Regions from separate parts of the Homo sapiens genome. Here all the other regions are linked to region 1. The links are contacts of gene promoters, found by promoter capture Hi-C in human tissues and cell types (Jung and others, 2019). All regions are on one chromosome and are shown on one strand. The core of a region is centred on a gene start or on the middle of the fragment in contact, and the rest is flanking DNA. Distances in the headings are between cores, read along the strand shown. Region 1 holds the start of M6PR (mannose-6-phosphate receptor, cation dependent). Region 2 overlaps CLEC6A (C-type lectin domain containing 6A). Region 3 has its middle 14 kb from the start of CLEC4D. Region 4 has its middle 6.8 kb from the start of LINC02367. Region 5 overlaps LOC124902872 (a long non-coding RNA gene). Region 6 overlaps AICDA (activation induced cytidine deaminase). Region 7 has its middle 9.8 kb from the start of AICDA.

What was found. The method cuts DNA at HindIII sites, captures the fragments that hold promoters and counts their contacts. A contact is called where the count stands out against the background at its distance.
Region 2: a contact is called between a fragment that was not itself captured here and the fragment with the promoter of M6PR in region 1, in 2 of the 25 tissues and cell types used here (lymphoblastoid cells and spleen).
Region 3: a contact is called between a fragment that was not itself captured here and the fragment with the promoter of M6PR in region 1, in 2 of the 25 tissues and cell types used here (lymphoblastoid cells and spleen).
Region 4: a contact is called between a fragment that was not itself captured here and the fragment with the promoter of M6PR in region 1, in 1 of the 25 tissues and cell types used here (heart left ventricle).
Region 5: a contact is called between a fragment that was not itself captured here and the fragment with the promoter of M6PR in region 1, in 1 of the 25 tissues and cell types used here (lymphoblastoid cells).
Region 6: a fragment that was not itself captured here is called in contact with the fragment with the promoter of M6PR in region 1 in 1 of the 25 tissues and cell types used here (lymphoblastoid cells).
Region 7: a contact is called between a fragment that was not itself captured here and the fragment with the promoter of M6PR in region 1, in 1 of the 25 tissues and cell types used here (spleen).

Annotation. Positions count from the first base shown.
Region 1 is chr12:8,948,272-8,951,056 of GRCh38, forward strand. It overlaps M6PR (mannose-6-phosphate receptor, cation dependent), which reads right to left and starts at 1,374. Exons shown (of 7, transcript NM_002355.4): 1 at 1,217-1,374. It also overlaps a transcript of KLRG1 not described here. RefSeq lists enhancers at 638-1,543, 1,544-2,448, 1,947-2,076 and a silencer at 1,754-1,968. The HindIII fragment of the contact is 13,158 bases long and covers 1-2,785 here.
Region 2 is chr12:8,476,268-8,479,052 of GRCh38, forward strand. CLEC6A (C-type lectin domain containing 6A) reads left to right here. Exons shown (of 6, transcript NM_001007033.2): 6 at 1,053-2,063. The coding sequence ends at 1,197. Among named protein-coding and RNA genes, the nearest start is that of CLEC6A, 22 kb to the left of the region's middle. The HindIII fragment of the contact is 3,557 bases long and covers 1-2,785 here.
Region 3 is chr12:8,497,806-8,500,590 of GRCh38, forward strand. No RefSeq gene overlaps it. Among named protein-coding and RNA genes, the nearest start is that of CLEC4D, 14 kb to the right of the region's middle. The HindIII fragment of the contact is 6,261 bases long and covers 1-2,785 here.
Region 4 is chr12:9,359,265-9,362,049 of GRCh38, forward strand. No RefSeq gene overlaps it. Among named protein-coding and RNA genes, the nearest start is that of LINC02367, 6.8 kb to the right of the region's middle. The HindIII fragment of the contact is 4,916 bases long and covers 1-2,785 here.
Region 5 is chr12:8,560,973-8,563,757 of GRCh38, forward strand. All of the region lies in intron 2 of LOC124902872 (a long non-coding RNA gene), which reads right to left. Among named protein-coding and RNA genes, the nearest start is that of CLEC4E, 21 kb to the left of the region's middle. RefSeq lists an enhancer at 2,410-2,785. The HindIII fragment of the contact is 4,770 bases long and covers 1-2,785 here.
Region 6 is chr12:8,601,315-8,604,099 of GRCh38, forward strand. AICDA (activation induced cytidine deaminase) reads right to left here. Exons shown (of 5, transcript NM_020661.4): 5 at 856-2,785. Among named protein-coding and RNA genes, the nearest start is that of AICDA, 10 kb to the right of the region's middle. The HindIII fragment of the contact is 7,401 bases long and covers 1-2,785 here.
Region 7 is chr12:8,621,301-8,624,085 of GRCh38, forward strand. No RefSeq gene overlaps it. Among named protein-coding and RNA genes, the nearest start is that of AICDA, 9.8 kb to the left of the region's middle. The HindIII fragment of the contact is 6,629 bases long and covers 1-2,785 here.

The sequences.
Region 1 (2,785 bases), core at 124-2,623:
CAGTGGCATATGCGCTAAATGTTTTCCCTAGATTATGTTCATTCATCTTCACAACCCAGAAAATAGGTATAATTTTTCATACTTCACAGATGAGAAAACTGATGCTTTACAGAATTACTTGTTAAATTACTTGCTGTACATTACACAGATATTAAATGTGTGTGAAGTTACTGGGGCAATTTAGACGATTCGTGGCATAAAGATAACTGCTGGAAAACTTATAAACATAGGGGTGCAACAATCAGGAAGAGAATGAAATGGAAGGGCCCAGTAGCCCCCTTTTAATATGCTACAATTAGATTCTCAAGGTACAAGAGTTTGTCTATATACTTTGGAAATAAGGAGCAGGATTTTATGATCTTGAAAAATCTTTCAGTTTTCTTATTCTCTAACGACAGATCTATTTTATTTGGCAATGCTAAAAATTATCCTTTATTAGGGTGGCCAATGACTAAGCCAGCAACTGGGAAGCAGCTTACACCACTGGGCCTCTGTAGCACTCACTTCCCCATCTGTTAAGACAGCCATGGCCATTTACCAGTGGAATTTCTACTGTCTTCCCGCTGGCTCCTTTCTGATGTAGCAGTCCTTATCCCTTTTTCTCCAGCAGCCTACATGTTTAGAAAAGCAGCCTCAATTGGCTAAAAGGCCTAATGCTGAAAGAACTCAAGAGAGAAGGAGCCTCAGACAAGTAGCGGCTATGTCCCAAGAGCGGAAGCTCCCCACAACGAGGAACACAAGATAATCCGTCCATCAGCCATTCTTATCCACACCACAGTCGCATCCCCCTCAAAGCTCTCCCAGGGTGCCAGAAATTCTCGCTCTGTCTAGTGTCCCGACTTTCCAAGCGCTTGTAGCCATACCCTCTCCAAATGATGCCACTTGACCTCCCACCGTGATGCAGGCCAAAATTCCTCCTACAAATAAATCCACCAACACCTCCAACGGACTCCATACTTGGGGTATTTTCCTTTCCCTGCTTTCTAAATATCGTAAATCCCCTCTCTGGTCTTGGAAGTCCTTTCTCCCTCACACCTTTCGGAACTCCGTGACTCTCCGCTCTCATGCCTCCGCCTCCATTCTACCCTTAGGGCTCCTCAGCCAGATCTTTGGCTAGAACCATGGTCAAGGGAGAATGCGATTCCGGCTCCTGTCACAGACGCTTAAGTGTGAGCGCAACCCAGCCCGCCTCCTCCTCCACGCCCCTCACACTCACGTGTCGTGGGAAACTGGAGTAGCCAAAGCTCAGAATCCCCAGTGAATACCCTTCTGGGGATGGGAGACGGGGCCAGCTAGGGGCCGGCCGCAGACCCCGGTCCCAGAGCTAGTTTCAGAGGCCAGCGTTCCCCCTAGCGCCTCGCTGTGCCCCACTCTGGGAACCGGAAACAGGAAGCGCCAAGAGGCCGCTGGGCAACCGCTCCTCCCACCAGACCCCGCGGCATGTGACCATAGAACCATTTCGCCCCTTTCCCCTTCCCGGGCTCCCTGATAATCTTAAACTCTGATTGGCCAGTATTCTGGGACTTTAGCTCCGCCCTCGTTCCATCAGCTCCAATCACTATCGAGGTTGTCGTTTCGCCTTTTCTGGTTGCCTTTCTTTCAATGGGGTCCCAGAGTCCCGCTTCCAGGGCCTCTCGGCTCGCGCACCCCGGTCACGCGGGGTCACGCGCCTGACCGCTCCCGGGTAGGGTTCGAGTGAAGAGGGTGAGAGGGGCAGGTGGCGGAAGCGGAAGTTACGCAGGCAGCTCGCCCTCGGGCTCCGCGGGAGTTGTAGTTCTCACGCTAGGTCTCCTCCGGGCGCTTCCCTAGCCCGTTCGCCGCCTGAGAGGGACGCTGTTCCGCCGCGTGGAAGCTTCGAGTCTCGACTCCACTGTTGACCCCTAGACGAGAGTAGTGCAGCGACGGGGCCGTGATGTGCGTCCTGGCTTTCTTAACGACACCTCTCCTCTGTATTTCCTTTTTCCAGTTGAGTACCTTGGGGTGAATTATTATTGTTACTGTTATCTCTGTCGTTCCTTACTGCTTCGTGGTATTTTGCTTGATAAGCATGCTCTGCAACCACCTCTGTTCGCCAGAGGTTACTTCTGCAAAGTAGGAAGAAACGAGCAATACGATGGTAATCTTTGCGCCTTTGCTAAGATCTTTTGTAGGTTCCTTATGTCTTACTAGCCACTTGTTGAAGTCCTGCTCATTCTTAAACTCTGTTCAGATGTTATTTTTCCTGTAACTTCGTGCATTCACTCTCTTCAGAATTAACAATTTCTTCCTGTGGACCCTCGCTTGTGGCTTGTACCTGGCTTTAGCATGTTTTCATTCCGCTTCCACTCTTACGTTGCTTCTATGTGTGCCTCTCTGGCTCTATGCAGGTGCCTGGATTTTTGATTCTTACCCCTCTCATTAGAACTACTACAGTGTTTTGAGTCTAATAATAATAAAAGCTAACGGATGCATATCTCGGTGGTGCCCGGCACTTTTGTAAGTGCTTTAAACGATAGTTAATTCACTTGGTCTTCACACCAACCTTATGAGGAAGTATCTTATCCCAAGTTTACAGATGAGTAAATTAAAGCAGATAGAAGCTAAGTAACACCGTGGGTCCCAAGCTATTAAGTTATGGAGCCAGTATTTAAATAGTCTCCATAATCCATGCTCTCAAGCACTACGCTTTACCGACTGTATGCCATTCTGCATTTCTTTGTTTATTAGTAATACATTCAGTTCAGGCTAGGTAGTAATCATATCTGGGTTGGATGTTGCCCCAATAAAAAAAAAAATTAAATTTTTT
Region 2 (2,785 bases), core at 124-2,623, 470 kb before region 1:
CATAGAAAATCTAGGGAAATTTTGTTAGGAGTTACTAATAATGTTAATATTGGTAATTATGATAACAGGATCTAACAATTATTAAGCATTACTAAGGATATGCATTATCTCACTTAAACTTCATGAAAACTTCTCTTTTTATGAACTAATTTTACAGATAAAAAATTAAATAACTTGCCCCAAATCAATAAACTAATAAGATGAGAAACTGGATGTCAACTCCATGTCTATCTGATTCCAGAGATGGTGCTCTAAACTATTATATTTTGCTGTTTCTAAACACAAGTAGACACTTAAACTGATCTCTAATTAATAAAACTTAAAATATCTGGGTCAGAACTATGTACAATTTTAGTAGAAAAATTACATAATAATACTATTTACTTGTGGCTTTAAAATAGAATTCAGTTATACATTATCTTATTTGATTCTTCCAAAATCTTGTGAGTTAGTTAGGGACCTTATTATAATTCCCATTTTTAAAGATGAGGAATCTAATACCTGGGGAGATTGAATTACTTCCCCATGATCAAAATGAGTGAGTATCAAAACCAGGTCTTGTAATTCCAAAAGTTATGTCCAACCTCCCAGTCTTTACCCAGAACGTATTCCCTGGAGGCAGGGTAACTTTTACATCCAGATTCAGGCATCCTAAGATTCACTTAAGGCAGATCCATGAGAATAAAGAAGCTTAGGAAGGTGATAAGAATACATAGATGTAAGGAGATAGCCTCTTTATTTCATGTCAGTAAGAAGGAAATTATTTAATAACCCCGCCAGCATAAAGGCTCTGTAAAGAGGAAGATGATTGCAGCGGAAAGATCTAGGAATAAACCATCTCATAAAATTTTGCCAGCAGAATGTTAAAGGAGCAAGTGTAAAAGTATGTGTCCATACTTGAGGATTTGAGGAGAGTAGTATGAGAAGAAGGAACAATCATTGGAATGTTCTCTCTTCCTAAATCCCACTTTGTTCACCCCAGACTTTTATACTTTCTAATCATTCACCATGCATTCTTTGAAGATGTGTACTACCTTTTTGTTTTCCTTTAGATTTTGGCACCTAGGTGAGCCCAATCATTCTGCAGAGCAATGTGCTTCAATAGTCTTCTGGAAACCTACAGGATGGGGCTGGAATGATGTTATCTGTGAAACTAGAAGGAATTCAATATGTGAGATGAATAAGATTTACCTATGAGTAGAAGCTTAATTGGAAAGAAGAGAAGAATTACTGACGTAATTTTTTCCCTGACGTCTTTAAAATTGAACCCTATCATGAAATGATAATTTCTTCCTGAATTTACACATAATCCTTATGTTATAGAGGTTCACAGAAATGGAAAGATACCTGTTTCCCTTTAATCAATCTTCTCGTTTCCTCTTTTCCATTAATGATAGAATGCACCCTTCCTCTCTTTGTTCCATTCTTTCACTTGTTATTCATTTTTTTCTTTCTTCACACTTCATTACACAAATATTTATTGTTTCAGAGACTGTACTATTTTGTTTGTTAGAAGATTTATAAGGCAGTATCTTTTGAAAATTATGACTTTCCTTCCTCAATATACCATAAAGAAATCTTTTTGGTCAAGATGGTAGTTGGAACTACAATCATCTGAAGGCCTGACAAGAGTTGAAAGACATGTTTTCTAGATGGCTCACTCACATGGCTGGCAACTTGGTGTTGGCTATTAATGTAACCTGGAAATAAATTTTATTCTGCAGTTAGGGATTTGGCATTTTATATATGTTGATTCAATCAAGTTTGGCAAGCAGGGTGTTCGATACTGCTATATCCTGTATTCTTGGTTTATTTGTTTTATTTCTGAGAAATATGTGTTAAGATCTCTCGCTGATTGGGAATTTGTCTATTTCTCATTTAAATTTTGTCAAATCTTTCTTTGCTTGCAAGCATTTCTTGTTACCCAAATCTAATCTATTCCTGAAAATATGATGGTTAGCAAAGTTTGAGATAACTAGAGCCTGTAATCCATCATTTTAAATGGCAATGATAATGACAGTTTATTTTTATGTTATATAAAAACCTCAACAAATTTTCCAAACAACTACCAAAATGGTCATTAATCTGTATCCACAAAGGATTTCTGCATAACATACTTTAAAACAAATTACCTAATTATTTAGTGCATATTAAACTTATTGGTGGGCATGACTATATGCAACAGTTGCATGATATATGATACAAATTATGTTATTCTTTTCCATTGCACTGAAAATACCATAATATAAAGAAGAATCCCATCATCCAAATTGAGCCTATATTGATTGATACTCAGAAGAATCTGGCAGTAGGAGCCTATAAAGGGATAAGCAATTGGGAAAGGATTGGGAAGTTGGTAGTACTGAACATCTTCTCACCTGGACTCATGAGCAACTTGAATAGTTGTAACTGTGATGCATATGTAGATTCTAACACATTTTTCCCCCTTGAATAGAAATTTGGCACAACAATTTTTTAAATTAATTTAGCAAATATTTGGATATTAAAGCTTCTTATAGAAAGAGATACCTGTATATTTAAGCCATGATGAGGTATATACAATGTTATAATTATTACTTGTACATGGCAAATTAATTTTTTTATCATTGTGGAGTCACTTTCTTTAAATTTAGTAATGCCTTTGGCTTTAATTTTTCTCCTGATATTAAAATAGATACAGTAACTTTCATTATGTTAGTGCTGTAAAATTTTTTTTTCCATCTTCTATTTTTGACCATTTTTATTCCACATGTGCTCTTAATAAGTAGCATATAGTTAAATTTTA
Region 3 (2,785 bases), core at 139-2,638, 450 kb before region 1:
TTCTCTGATTTCAAGTGTGAGCAGTGGTTTGAACTTTCTCCTGCAGCTGAGTTAGACTACCTCAGAGACTGACAATATCTTCAACCATGGCTGAGTTAGACATGATTTCTGGACATTGTATAAAAGATTCCCCATTCTTATTCCTGTGCTCTGATACACTCAGGGGGATTCGTTGTTGCCGTTGTAATGCTTTAATTACTTGCAATAATGTATATTCCTATATCACCAGTTTGGGCAGCATGAAATAATAAAAAGAATGCAAACTCTGACATCATACAGGTCAATAATAAATTTTAAAAATTAACACCAAAATAAAATATGCACGTGGTGATAATTCAAATTGTTCCAAAGAGTTTATTATGAAAAGCAACCAATCTTTCCTGGCACTACTGTGCAGATGCAAGTTATTTAAGCTTTTTTTTAATTAAATTTTGAGACGGAGTCTCGCTCTGTCACCAGGCTGGAGTGCAGTGGCTTGATCTTGGCTCACTGCAACCTCTGCCTCCTGGGTTCAAGTGATTCTCCTGCCTCAGCCCCCTGAGTAGCTGGGACTACAGGCAAGCACCACCATGCCCAGCTAATTTTTGTGTTTTTAGTGCAGACGGGGTTTTACCATGTTGGTCAGCATGGTCTTGATCTCTTGACCTCATGATCTGCCCGCCTCAGCCTCCCAAAATGCTGAGATTACAAGTGTGAGCCACCATGCCTGGTCAGCTTTTTTTTTTTAAGTTCTTCTAGTGATTTTTTCCATGATTCTAAATAAAACTCATATTTCTATTTCTGCAAATTGCAATCCAGTACTCCCTGCTCCTCTAATTCTTTTCCACTTTCCTTTTCATTTTTACATTTTCTACTTTGACTTTTGATAATTAAGTAATGATATTATTACTTTTCATTAATTTGTTGGTTACTTTTGTAAGTCTAAATAGTATCCTTGGCCATCTATTTTTTGTTTCATCTCATTAAAATGAGAACAGTTGTTCCCATACTCCCCTCATATTCCTTCATCCCTTTCCTTCTTACTTCAGCCACATTTTAAATTGTACCTTGTCAAGGTTGTTGACATTTACATTCTATACTACACCATGGCCGAATGTCCGTGCTTTGTCCAAAGGCTAACTCTAATCAATAAATTTTTACATAATCACATTTCTTTTGGGCCAAGATATGGGCTAACATTATGTTTTCTTCTCTGTGGGTACTGTGTTTCAATTCTGATTTATCCAGAGGAGATTGCTTCCATCACTCAGATCACATGGCCTCTATTTACTTAGACTCCATCTATTATTTCAACTCAAGCCACACTTCAATTTGATTCCTATTTAAATCCTCCTTTCTTGTACAACTTTAATTTTTTTCCGATATTGCTAGTCACCTTTCCTTGAATTATCTGTTATACCCTTGATCTTCAATCCTCCCAATCTTTCTATTATACAGCATTGTGCTTTGATCTGTTCTTCTCAGCATCCTCCTTCTGCTACTCCACACTAGACTCACTATCCTTTAGTCCTGTTCATGGTTGTTATTCAAGGACTTCCCTTCCCGGCTCGTTTGGTTTACATCTACTGTTTCTTGTACACTATGCCTTTCTCTTTGTTGTGTTGGGTATAACTGTCAACACACCTGAGTGTGCAAGGAAATCTGGTTCTAATATCCTGTTATGCCAGCCTCATAGGAAGTTCAATCTCAGTTATTTTGGAGCTCTTTTCTCCTCATTGCAATTGCATGAGAATCCAGGAAGGTTATGTGTTGTCCAGGAGGACAGGACAAAGGAAGGAGGGCTTTTAATCTGCAGTGTATCAGGATCACCACTGATTGTCCCATTGTTCAACATGGGTTTCGGGTAGATCTCTCCATTTTTGGGAGCTTGTTAGAACTTGTATTCTGTACCCTAACGTGACGTTTTCTTCTCTGTGGGTCTTGTGTTTCAATTCTGGCTTATTCAGAGGAGATTCCTTTATTTTAACCTGCAAAAGAAGTGGTGCAGAGGGAAGCTTGAATGTCGTTTTACCTGTAGCAGCCACAGGAGGGCAACTTCTCCCTTCTTCCTCTGCAGTTAAATTCATCTTGTTTCTCCTCTAAATTATAAGCTTTAAAAAATGAAACATTTTATTTATTTGTCATCCTATTTTGGAGTTGTAAAAAAAGACAGATAAAGAAAAAGAGGACCATCTTCTAGTTAAATTAATTCTGACAAGGGCCATGCAGAGTTGTTATGGAATTCTCCCAGATTTGATAAAATGCCCACAAAATCAATGTATGTTTAATTTTTTTGGAGGAAGAATGATAAAAGGAGCAATACTCACAAAGAGCGTGTTGACTGAAATTGTTAACAACCATTGCATTAGGAGGTATCAACTGCTGACTGCAAGAGGTGGACATGTGGATTCTTCTTGAGAATGACAAAAAGTGACACTAATGGCCTGACAGTGAAGAACAGAAGGAAACTAAAAAATGCTATAAGTATAGTTGGGGAGCCTTATGTAATGTAGCAGAAGTTGGTTGTAAGGGCATGAGCATCCAGTATAATCACTGATCTTCAAACTGAGGATGTAGAAGAGTAAAGTTTAAAGGATCTTCATTAACAAAGATGATAGTGTCTTATTTACGCAGTTCTTTACAGTTTTAGAACATGTGTTCCATTGAGGACACACGGACACAAAGAAGGGAATGACAGACGCCAGGGCCTACTTGAGGGTGGAAGGTGGGAGGATGGAGAGGATCAAATACTACTTATTGGGCAGTATGCTTATTACCTGAGTGATGAAATAATCTGTACACCAAA
Region 4 (2,785 bases), core at 286-2,785, 410 kb after region 1:
TGGATATGAAATTTTGGATTGAAAATTCTTTTCTTTAAGAATGTTGAATATTGGCCCCTACTCTCTTCTGGCCTGTAGAGTTTCTGCTGAGAGATCTGCTGTTAGTCTGATGGGCTCCCCTTTGTGGGTAACCCAACCTTTCTCTCTGGCTGCCCTTACCATTTTTTCCTTTATTTGAACCCTGGTGAGTCTGACAATTATGTGTCTTGGGGTTGCTCTTCTCGAGGAGTATCTTTGTGGTGGTCTCTGTATTTCCTTAATTTGAATGTTGGCCTGCCTTGCTAGGTTGGGGAAATTCTCCTGGATAATATCCTGAAGAGTGTTTTCTAGCTTGGTTCCACTCTCCTTGTCACTTTCAGGTACACCAGTCAATTGTAGATTTGGTCTTTTCACATAGTCCCATATTTTTTGGAGGCTTTGTTCATTTCTCTCTTTTCGCCCCCGGGTTCTGCCCAGGGTGGCCTGATGGAAAGCCCCGACATTAGAATGGGAACCATCCCTTAAAACCTGTCTTTTCCAAAAGCCAGTTTGAATTTACATCTTTAAAATCTCCAAAATATTTATTTTACAAGGCAGGAGCTGTGCCCCAAAGCTTGTGGCAATTGGGGACCTAAGGTTCCTTGAAATCACCTGAGTGTGGAAGTGGTGATAAGGTGCTAAAGAGATGATCTGAACTCACCAGGCTGATGTGGATAGAATGGGAGGCCCCAGTTCTGTCCCTCCATCCCTGAGGCCCCTCCCCAACCTCCCTGGACCCCCTGTCCACAGAGGCCGTGCTGTGTGCCAGCCTCACTCCTGCATTCTGGAGATGCCGTTCCAAGATGGAGGTTCCCTCACACCTTCCCCCACCCAGCAAACTCCATTGGACAGATCCACACCAGCAACAGCTTCACAGCTAGGCCCTGGAGGTATGGAGCTCACAGACCTCCCACTAACTAAGAAAAACACGGTAGAGAGCCAGAAGGGTGGCAGGTTCCAACAGAGCCCCCACCATGTCCCCCACCCAGCCCCCCATCCGACCCCTTCCCTCCACCTGGACTCAGCACCATCCTGAGTCCCTGCGTGAGAGGCACGTTGAGTTCTATGGAAGAATAACAAAAGTGAGAACAACTGGTACAGTTGCCATGAGGCCCTGGATGCCCAGGGGACTGGAGGCTTTGACGGCCTCTGACTCGGCCCCTCTCGGGGGATCCTGAAGACTATGGGGATGTTTGCCTCTCCACACACACACAGCATCCCATTCCCTGGCTGCCACTCCACACAGATTACCTTCCTGCACCAGAGGTTTCAATATTTCTTGAAAAGGTTGGCAATTTTGAAATTTTTTTCATACATTTATTCCTTACGATCCACTCCTCTGCTTTCTTACAATTGAGCATTTTGAGAATAATTTAACCTTTTCATCATGACTTGGGGTCCTGATGATGAACACCATTATTGTGTTGAGATGTCATTTCCCCCAGAGTGCAGGGACCATGTCTCAGTCCTCTGTGTGCTCCTCGGCACCTCGGCCAGCCCATGGCGATGCTGTGTGTGTCTGCGGGGTTGCACTGACAGAAGCCAACAGAGGCTCTGGCATAAAGGCTGACAGCCTGCTGCTCTGGGCGGTTCTGCTTTGTGAATATGTGTTCCTTAGTGTCTTTCCTTAGTATCCTCTCTTGCTATCAGTCTATCAGCTCACCAAATCTTGAGGCCCCTCTTTTTATTTTCACTTTTTAAAAATTGAGATATCATTCACCTAACATAAAAATCACCCTTTTAAAGTGGTTTTCATATATATTCACAAAATTGTGCGTCCATCACTACTATCTAATTCTAAACATTTTCATCACCTCCACAAAGAAACCTCATACGCATGGTCAGTCTCCACACTTCTTTCCCCTAGCCCCCAGCAACCACAAACCTACCTTCTGTCTCTCTGGATTTGCCTGTTCTGCACTTTTGCATAGAATGGAATCCTGTGCCATGTGGTCCCTTTATGCACGATATCCAACCCAGAGAAAGGCCTTGCTTCCTAAGCCCTCCTGAGACTCACCAGCCACGAGCCCGCATCTATAGCAAGTTCTTTTGAAGGCCCTCTTTACTGCTGGACATTCTTCCTTTGTGCAACAAGTCAATAAACCCATTTTGGTTCAGCTACAGGTGAGTTCTTGGTGGTTTTTTAGCTTAGGAGGATTGGCAGAAATAGAGGTTCCCTGAGTCAGCTGAAGCCCTCCCCCTTGGACAAGAACCCCCGCCTCAGTTAGGGTGGACACAGCTGAGACATACAGGGTGTCTCCCTCTGTCTGAGGTGCCGGGTGGCCCACAGCTGGAAGGCAGCTCGGGCTGAATGGAGGCTGATATTTCCTTGAGGCCCCATGGAGGCTGATATTTCCTTGAGGCCCCTCCGCTTCAGGTGTGCTCTGTTCTGGGAATGAGGTGCTGTGCGACTTTTCCTGGTGATCTGATCAGATTTGCCCCGCTCCACGGTGAAACTGCTGTCTAGCCTTCTGAGAAATGCTCCTATGTCTATCTGGTGGTCGAATGTTCTAAGCGTTGTCTCTAAGTGGAAAATTCAGTAGTTGATAGGGGCCCGGGAAGTCTGTCCTCAAGCTGGTCTTGGAGGTCACAGTGCTCAGGAGTTCCCCTCAGACTAGCATTCATTGGAATGAGCTTTGCCCCAGGTCACTGTTTTCATACCTAAGGGTGGATTTTCCCCTCAACTTTGTCTCTGTGTGGTTCCTGAGAACTGCTCACTTTAAAGTTCCCTCTGCCTGGAATCAGGAGGATTGGGGACAATCAGCCT
Region 5 (2,785 bases), core at 124-2,623, 390 kb before region 1:
TATTAAGGCTCCAACCTCAACTTTTTGAGTGCTAATAAATCCAGAACAAGTGAGGGAATTATGCCATCTCCACCAGACAGCTGCTTTTCCATCTTTACCAGAGCCATCAATAAACAGTGTTAAAGCATTAGGTATGGGGGATTGAACTATTTTTGTAGGCGAAAGCACAGAAGTACGAGATAAGAACTGAAGGAGTTTGTCAGCAGGAAGGGCGTGCTTTATACGGCCTGTGTAATCAGAGAGTGCTATTTGCAGGTCCATAGATAAGGGCAATACTGCTTCAAATTGCTTTTTACTTAAAGGAATTCTGATGATATTAGGGTCATAACCTAGTAATAGATTGCCTTGTCTGCAGCCTAAATAGATGACTTTACTAACTAACTGGATATAGGGAGAGACTGTTTTAGTCCCAGTATGTGAGCAAAAAACCCATCCTAGGACAGCCCTGGGGTCATCTGTCCTATTAGCCCTGTAGAGGTGTGTTTAGTGGGAAAAACAAATAATTGAACTGAATACCATGGATCAATGCAATCTAGTTGCCTCTAAGAAATAGCTTGCTCTATCTCTTCAATTTCCCTTTGTGCTGCAGGAGTTAAATACCTAGAGAGTCTAGGGCAGCATTGTCTTTTAAGATAGACAACAGGTTCTGTAACTTATCAGTAGTTATGCCCAAGGTTGGGCGAAGCCAGTTAATATCACCTAGTCATTTCTGATAATCATTCAAGGTATGTAAGTTGCCAGTATTTAATTTAACATTTTGGGGTCTTACTGACCGGGTAGTTAGTATATACTCAAGGTATTTCCAAGGAGAGGAAATTTGTACTTTTTCAGGTGCTACGATTAAACCTCTTAACTGTGTATTCCTTATGACAGAGGCACGTAACTTTAAAAGTACTGGCTCTGTTGGGGCTGCTAGTAAAATATCATCCATAAAATGAATAATCTTGCAATTAGGAAATTCTTTTCTACTGGGGAGCAAAGCCTGATTTACATGATACTGACACATGGTAGGACTGCTCAGCATTCCTTGGGGTAGCACTTTCCAATGAAATCGGTGAGCTGGCCTTTCATTATTGATAGCTGGTATTGTAAACACAAATTTTTCTCTGTCCTGTTCTGCAAGGGGAATAGTATAAAAACAGTCTTTTAAGTGAATAACGATTATAGGCCAATCTCAAGGAATCGCTGCAGGGGAGGGGAGCCCCTACTGAAGGGGCCCCATAGGTTGCAAATTAGCATTGATAGCACGCAAGGCATGCAAAAGTCTCCATTTACCAGACTTTTTGGGGATGACGAAAATGGGCGAATTCCAAGGGTTGTTTGACGGTTCTGTATGGCCGGCTTTTAATTGCTCCTCAACTAATTCATGGGCTCTTTGCAATTTCTCTCCCTTTAAAGGTCACTGTTCTACCCAAATAGGATTTTGAGAGAGCCACGTCAGGGGCAGGGGAGAGATAACAACAATGGCCATTATTAGAAAGAGGTCTGCAGAGTGACCGCAATTAACCCTCTCGTAAATGGGCTGGTGGCACCGCCTACTGGCCTGGAGGTCAAACTGCACAGCTCAATGTAAAACCTGCAGAGTAAAGTGCACCTGGCTATCTATAGAAGCAAAACCAAAAGACCCTACCCAACATTTCCACAGTCACGCCCCCAGGGGAAGGGGAATAATAGTGGGAAAAAAACCCATCAAAATGAAAATAAATTTAAAAATAAGAAGTGTCAGCTTCCCCAAATGAGAAGAAACCAGAGTAAGGATTATTGCACCATGAAAAATCTGAATGCTGTGACACCACCTAAGGATCAATAGACCTTAACCAAGATGAACACTCAGAAATGACAGATGAAAAATACAAAGTATGGATTGCAAGGAAGCTCAATGAGATCCAAGAGAAGCTTGAAAACCAACACAAAGAAACCATGAAAGCAATCCAGGAGATGAAGAGATAGATATCTAAAAAACAGAAGTTCTAAAAATGAAAAATTCACTTAAAGATTTTCAAAATATATTTGAAAGCTTTAATAATAGATTAGGTCAAGCAGAAGAAGGAATTTCAGAGCCTGAAGACTGCTCTTTCAAATTAACTCAGTCAAATAAAAATAAAGAAAAAAAGAATTTTTAAAAAATGAAAATTCAAGAAATATGGGATTATGTAAAGTGACCAAACCTATGACTTACAGGCATTCTTGGAAGAGAAGAAAAGATAAGCAACCTGGAAAGCATATTTAAAAGAATAATTCAGAAAAAATTATCTAATCTTACTAGAGAAGTAGACTTCCAGGTACAAGAAAGTCAGAAAATACCTTTAAGATACAAAATGCCACTGCACTCCAGCCTGGGCGACAGAGCAAGACTCTGTATCAAACAGAAACAAAAACAAAACAAAGATATGCTTGCAAAAATATGAAATGGCAGATGCACATGGTTATTTGCACCATTATTTTCAAAAGTCAAACTGGAGCACCATCTGAATATTCATCAAATTCAGGACTGATGAGGCAGAGCAACACAATGGATTATTATGCAGATATACAAGAGAATGCGGAAGCTCTGTAAAGTAGGGTGTGAACTCCAGGACACAGGGTGAAGTGAAGAAAGCAAGGTGCAGAAATTGCACACAGTATGCCATCTTTTGTACTGGGGAAAGGAATACAAAGCAGCGGGGAAAGGAATGTGTATGCATGTATATGTAAATACAGTCATTAAAACTGAAAACAAAGTGGCACAAATAAACCTAATTCCCTATCGAGTTGGCATTGCTGCCTTAACCACACAGAGGAAAGT
Region 6 (2,785 bases), core at 129-2,628, 350 kb before region 1:
TGTTGCCCAGGCTGGTCTTGAACTCCAAGGCTCAGGGCACCTGCCTGCCTCGGCCTCCCATAATGCTGGGATTACAGGCGTAACCATCATGCCCAGTCAGATTATTTCCTTATAGCCAGTGCTTATATGGAAAGGAGGGGGAATTAGAGTAATATTTTTAGGTTTTATGACTGGTTTGGGGGAAAGGAGGTGCTGGTTTCTTTGACCGCCTTGTGGAAGAGAGATTCTAGTTTCTATGTGGCCTCAGGGAAGAATGAGGTGCCAGAGACAGGAGGGCTGGAGAAGGTGAGAGAGAGAGTTTTGCTTCTGAGGCCTAAACCATCCAACCTTATAACAAATGACTGTAACAAGGGTGAGGGGGTTTATAAGCCAGGAACTATGGACAAAAACCTATATATATATCATAATATCACAACCCTTATCAGATATATGATTTGCAAGTGTTTTCTCCCACTTCTGTGGGTTGTCTTTTCACTTTCTTACTAAGTGTCCTTTGATGCACAAAGATTTTTAATTTCGATGAAGTCCAACTTATTTATTTTTGTCTTTGGTTGCTTGTGCTTTTGATGTCATAATTAAGAAGCTGTTGCCTAATCTAAAGCCATAAACATTTTTACCTATGTTTCTCTCTACGGTTTATAAATTAGTCTCTAATATTTAGGTATTTGATGAATTTTTAATTAATTTTTATATATGGTGTGTAGTAGAGACTCAAATTCATTCCTTTGCATGTAATATCCAATTAGCTCAGCACCATTTGTTGAGAAGATCATTTTTTCTCCATTGAATGGTCCTTACACCCTTGTGAGAAATTAGTTGATTACAGATGTATGGGATAACTTCTGGACTCTCAAGTTTATTCCATCATACTGATTTTTTATTTTAACTTCATATAAATCACTTTTATATTATTTTATTTGGTATTTTATCTTCACAGCTTCCAAAATTATTTATCATTTATTTAACTGATTGAAAGTGAGCCAGAAGCAAATTTGCTGTCATAAAAGTTTACTAAAAATCAAGAGAAATGGCTTCGTAGCACCATTACTGCAATGTTACAATTACATACGTTGTTATTAGAATCATTTCTAAAGTTATAAATTTATGAAGCTTTGAGACTCCATTTCAATATATCAGAAAAGGAAATCATGTTAATAAAAAATCATTAGACGCAAAATAATATAAAATATAAATGAATACATGAAGTAACAATTTTTAACTCTTTTACAAACTTATGTACAATAAGATTAAAATAAGACAGTTGTGCATTCAAGTTTTCCTGTGGATCTGCTCATCTTCATTGCAAGGGTTGCTAGGTAATAACGGCACAGGGATATGGTTATTCTGAATATTTTTCTCACTGTCAAAGACAGTTGTTAGGGACAAATAGACACCAAAAGAGACAAATAGGGATCCCTTATTGGCTCCTTACATTTTGTTGGATAAAGCACAATTTCCTTGCAATGCTTCCCCATCCTTCTCTCCCAAATATTGTTCTCTTTCTCTCTCTCTCTCTTTTTTTTTTTTTTTTCTGAGACAGAGTCTTGCTCTTGTCGCCCAGGCTGGAGTGCAACGGCACGATCTCAGCTTACTGCAACCTCCACCTCCTGGGTTCAAGCGATTCTCCTGCCTCAGCCTCCCAAGTAGCTGGGATTACAGGTGCCTGCTACCACGCCTGGCTAATTTTTGCATTTTGAGTACAGACGGGGTTTTGCCATGTTGGCCAGGCTGGTCTCAAACTCCTGACCACAGGTGATCCGCCCGGCTCGGCCTCCCAAAGTGCTGGGATTACAGGCGTGAGCCACCACGCCCGGCCCTCTCTCTTTCTTTTTTTTTTTTTTTTTTTTGAGAGACAGGATCTTGTTATGTTGCCCAGGCTGGCCTTGAACACCTGTGTTCAAGCCATCCTCCCTCCTCAACCTCCCAAGCAGCTAGAACTATGAGCGTGTGCCACGGTTCGCAGCTTTATCATTCTGTTTTGTCACAACTCTCTTATATAGTTAATATACCTTTGGGAGAAGCATCACACACATACAAAATGTAGCAAACCTTGACCTGATTGGCATTTCTGAGATGAAGAGACCCACGAGAGCCAATAGATTTTCCTCTCCCCAACATTCAAGCAACTTCCTTCCAATTGTTTGCTAATTATGATATGTGAAGTTTGTGGGTGTTTCTAAATTAGGGACTTCCTTAAAAGAGTTTGCGTTTCCAGAAGATTTGCTACTTCAGACATCAACCCATTATTAGGGTGTCTTGTTCACAGTCCTCCTGCCCATTTTAAGATCCTTTATTAAAGTAGCTTGAAGGTGACCATGCATGGTCTATACCTCCATCCCCACCCATAACAATCTTCTTTTGTACAAACATAAAAACATGCTTCTGCTGATTAAAACATACAGCGCATGATTGGATATTAATGCTTTGGAGAGATGGTTTGGGGTCACAATCACCCAGATACTCTCATTAGGAGGTCCTATAGATCATGGCCTGATGGAAGAGTTTGTGTTACTTGAAAGTAAACGTCAAGGGAAAAGAATAGAAAAATCTATCACTAACACCACTGTTAACTCAAATGAATCAAATAATAAAGGATGTTGATATAAAAACATTTGATCCTCTCACCATGCTTTTTAGGATCTACCTTCTGCTCTCATCCTACCTAAAAGTCATAGAAAAACGTTGACACTTTAGGATGCTCCCAGGTCCTGCAGTTCTGTTATTCCCAGTAGGGGACAATGTTGCATTCAAAACTGCACCAATTGCAGCACGTCCCTGGCCAGAC
Region 7 (2,785 bases), core at 150-2,649, 330 kb before region 1:
CCATGCCCAGCTAATTTTTGTATTTCTTGTAGAGATGGGGTTTTGCCATGTTGCTCAGGCTGGTCTCGAACTCCTGGGCTCATATGATCTGTCTGCCTTGGCCTCCCAAAGTGTTGCGATTATAGGCGTGAGCCACTGTGCCAGGCCAATATAGACATTTTAACAATATTAACTCTTCTAATCCATGAACACAGGATATCCTTCCACTTATTTGTCGTCTTCTTCAACTTCTTTCATCAATGTTTTATAAGTTTCAGTGTATATATCTCTTACCTCCTTGGTTAAGTTTATTCTTAACTATTGTATTCTTTTTGATGCTATCATAAATGAAATTAGTTTCTTGATTTCCTTTTCGGGTAGATATTTGTTCTTGTAAATAAATGCAACTACTTTTTGTATGTTGGCTTTTTAATCCTGCAACTTTACTGAATTTATTAGTTCTAATTGTTTTTTTGTGTGTGGACTCCTTAGTTTTCTACATACAGAATTATGTCATCTACAAAGAGAAATAATTTTACTTCTTCCTCTCAAATTTGGATGCCTCTTATTTTTCTTGTGTGATTGTTCTTGCTAGCACTTCCAGCATTATGTTGAATAGAAGTGGCAACAGTGGGCATCCTCATCTTGTACAAGATCTTAGAGAAAAAGTTTTCAGCTTTTCCATTAATTTTGATGTTAGCTGTGTGCTTTTCATAAATGGCTGTTATTGTGCCAAGGAATTTCCTTCTATACCTATTTTGATGCGTTTTTTTTTTCTCTGCCATGAATGAGTATTGAAGTTTGTCAAATGCTTCTGCATCTCTTGACATGATCATGTGGTTTTTAATATGACATAGCACATTGATTGATTTGTATGTGTTAAACCACTCCAAAGGATAAATCCCACTTAGTTATGGTGTAGAATCTTTCTGATGTGTTGTTGAATTTGGTTTGTTACTACTTTATTGAGGATTTTTGTATCTATCACATATTTCTTTTTCCTTTTTTTTCTTTTCTTTTCTTTTTTTTTTTTTTTGAAACAGAGTCTTGCTCTGTCACCCAGGCTGGAGTGCAATGGCGGGATCTCAGCTCACTGCAACCTCTGCCTCCCGGGTTCAAGCAATTCTCCTGCCTCAACCTCCTGAGTAGCTGGGATTACAGGCGCCCGCCACCAAGCCAGGCTAATTTTTGCATTTTAGTAATGATGGGGTTTCACCATGTTAGTCAGGCTGGTCTCCAACTTCTGACCTCAAGTGATCCACCCACCTCAGCCTCCCAAAATGCTGGGATTACAGGCACGAACCACCACACTCAGCCAATTTTTTTGTATTTTCAGTAGAGACGGGGTTTCACCATGTTGGCCAGCCTGGTCTCAAACTCTTGACCTCAGGTGATCTGCCCACCTCGACCTCTCAAAGTGCTAGGATAACAAGGCGTGAGCCAGCACGCCCAGCCTATCACATATTTCTTAATGGCACCTCCTTTAAACACACACACTCACATCCTTACTGAAACTGAAATTATTTTTTAAAGCCCAATAGCTTCCCTGACAAGGGCCCTCTTTCTTCCTGCTCAGCGTCTGACTGGGGAGTAATCCCATTCTCTACACAAAAAGTCATTATCTAACAAGTTCAGCCAACAGCTAGAAAGCAGAAAAGCTGGGACTGAGATTTGAAAGCATCAGCCTTACTCCAAAGCCCATGCAATACTGTCAAGCTGGTAAAATCAATCCTACAGACCTTAATCTATTTGACCATATCAATTTAGAAATCTTCATCAGAGCTACAGAGAAAGATCCCCCTGCCGCCGCCACATAACTATATCATTTAGAATTGGTATATGTCAGGCAAACTCAATAAATGGCTTATGCAAGAAAGACTTTGTCTTCCACCCAAAAATGTAGACAGTTGACTTAGCAAGTATTAAATCTAAATCTAATTGAAACATGGACCTGTACTTCCTTGGAGCTCCTTGCTTTATCAAAAGAGGCTCTGTTGGCAGAATTATCTGTGGATATTTGTTTATTCTATTTTATAAAATATATTTGATATAGTGTTGGCAAAACCTAATAAACACAACACAAAATACAGTCTACATTCCTGTATAATGTCTCCTTCTGTTTTGAAAATCTTTTCAGTGTATAGACTGCAAAAAAGATTCTCTCTAACATATATCAATCGGTTTTAGATATTCAGCATTTGAAAATAAAGTTCCTGGAGAGAAACAAATATTCTGTTTGTTTTGATGTTCTACCCCTTTGGGGGCAATTTAAAAAAGTGATTTTATGACGAATTTATGAAGATTACCTTTGAAAGCTGAAATTCATTCATCTGATTAATATTTATTAAAGGCCTATTATGAGAGAGCATAAGGGGAACATCGAAGGTGAATACTGGTGTGCATTATAGTTCTTCAAGCAGTTTATAATGTTGTTAAAAGCTTTAAAAATAGACATAATACTTAAAGGCAGGAGTGGTGGCTCATGCCTATAATCCCAGCACTTTGGGAGACCCCGGCGGGCAGATTACCTGAGGTCAGGAGTTTGAGACCAGCCTGGCCAACATGGTGAAACCTTGTCTCTACTAAAAACACAAAAATTAGCCGGGTGTGGTGGTGCATGCCTGTAATCACAACTACCCGGGAGGATGAGGCAGCAGAATCCTTTGAACCCAGGAGGCAGAAGTTGCAGTGAGCCGAGATTGTGTCATGGCACTCCAGCCTGGGTGACAGAGCGAGATTCTGCCAAAAAAAAAAAAAAAAGACAACATGCTTAAATGACTGATGATATTAAAATAAATAGCTATAA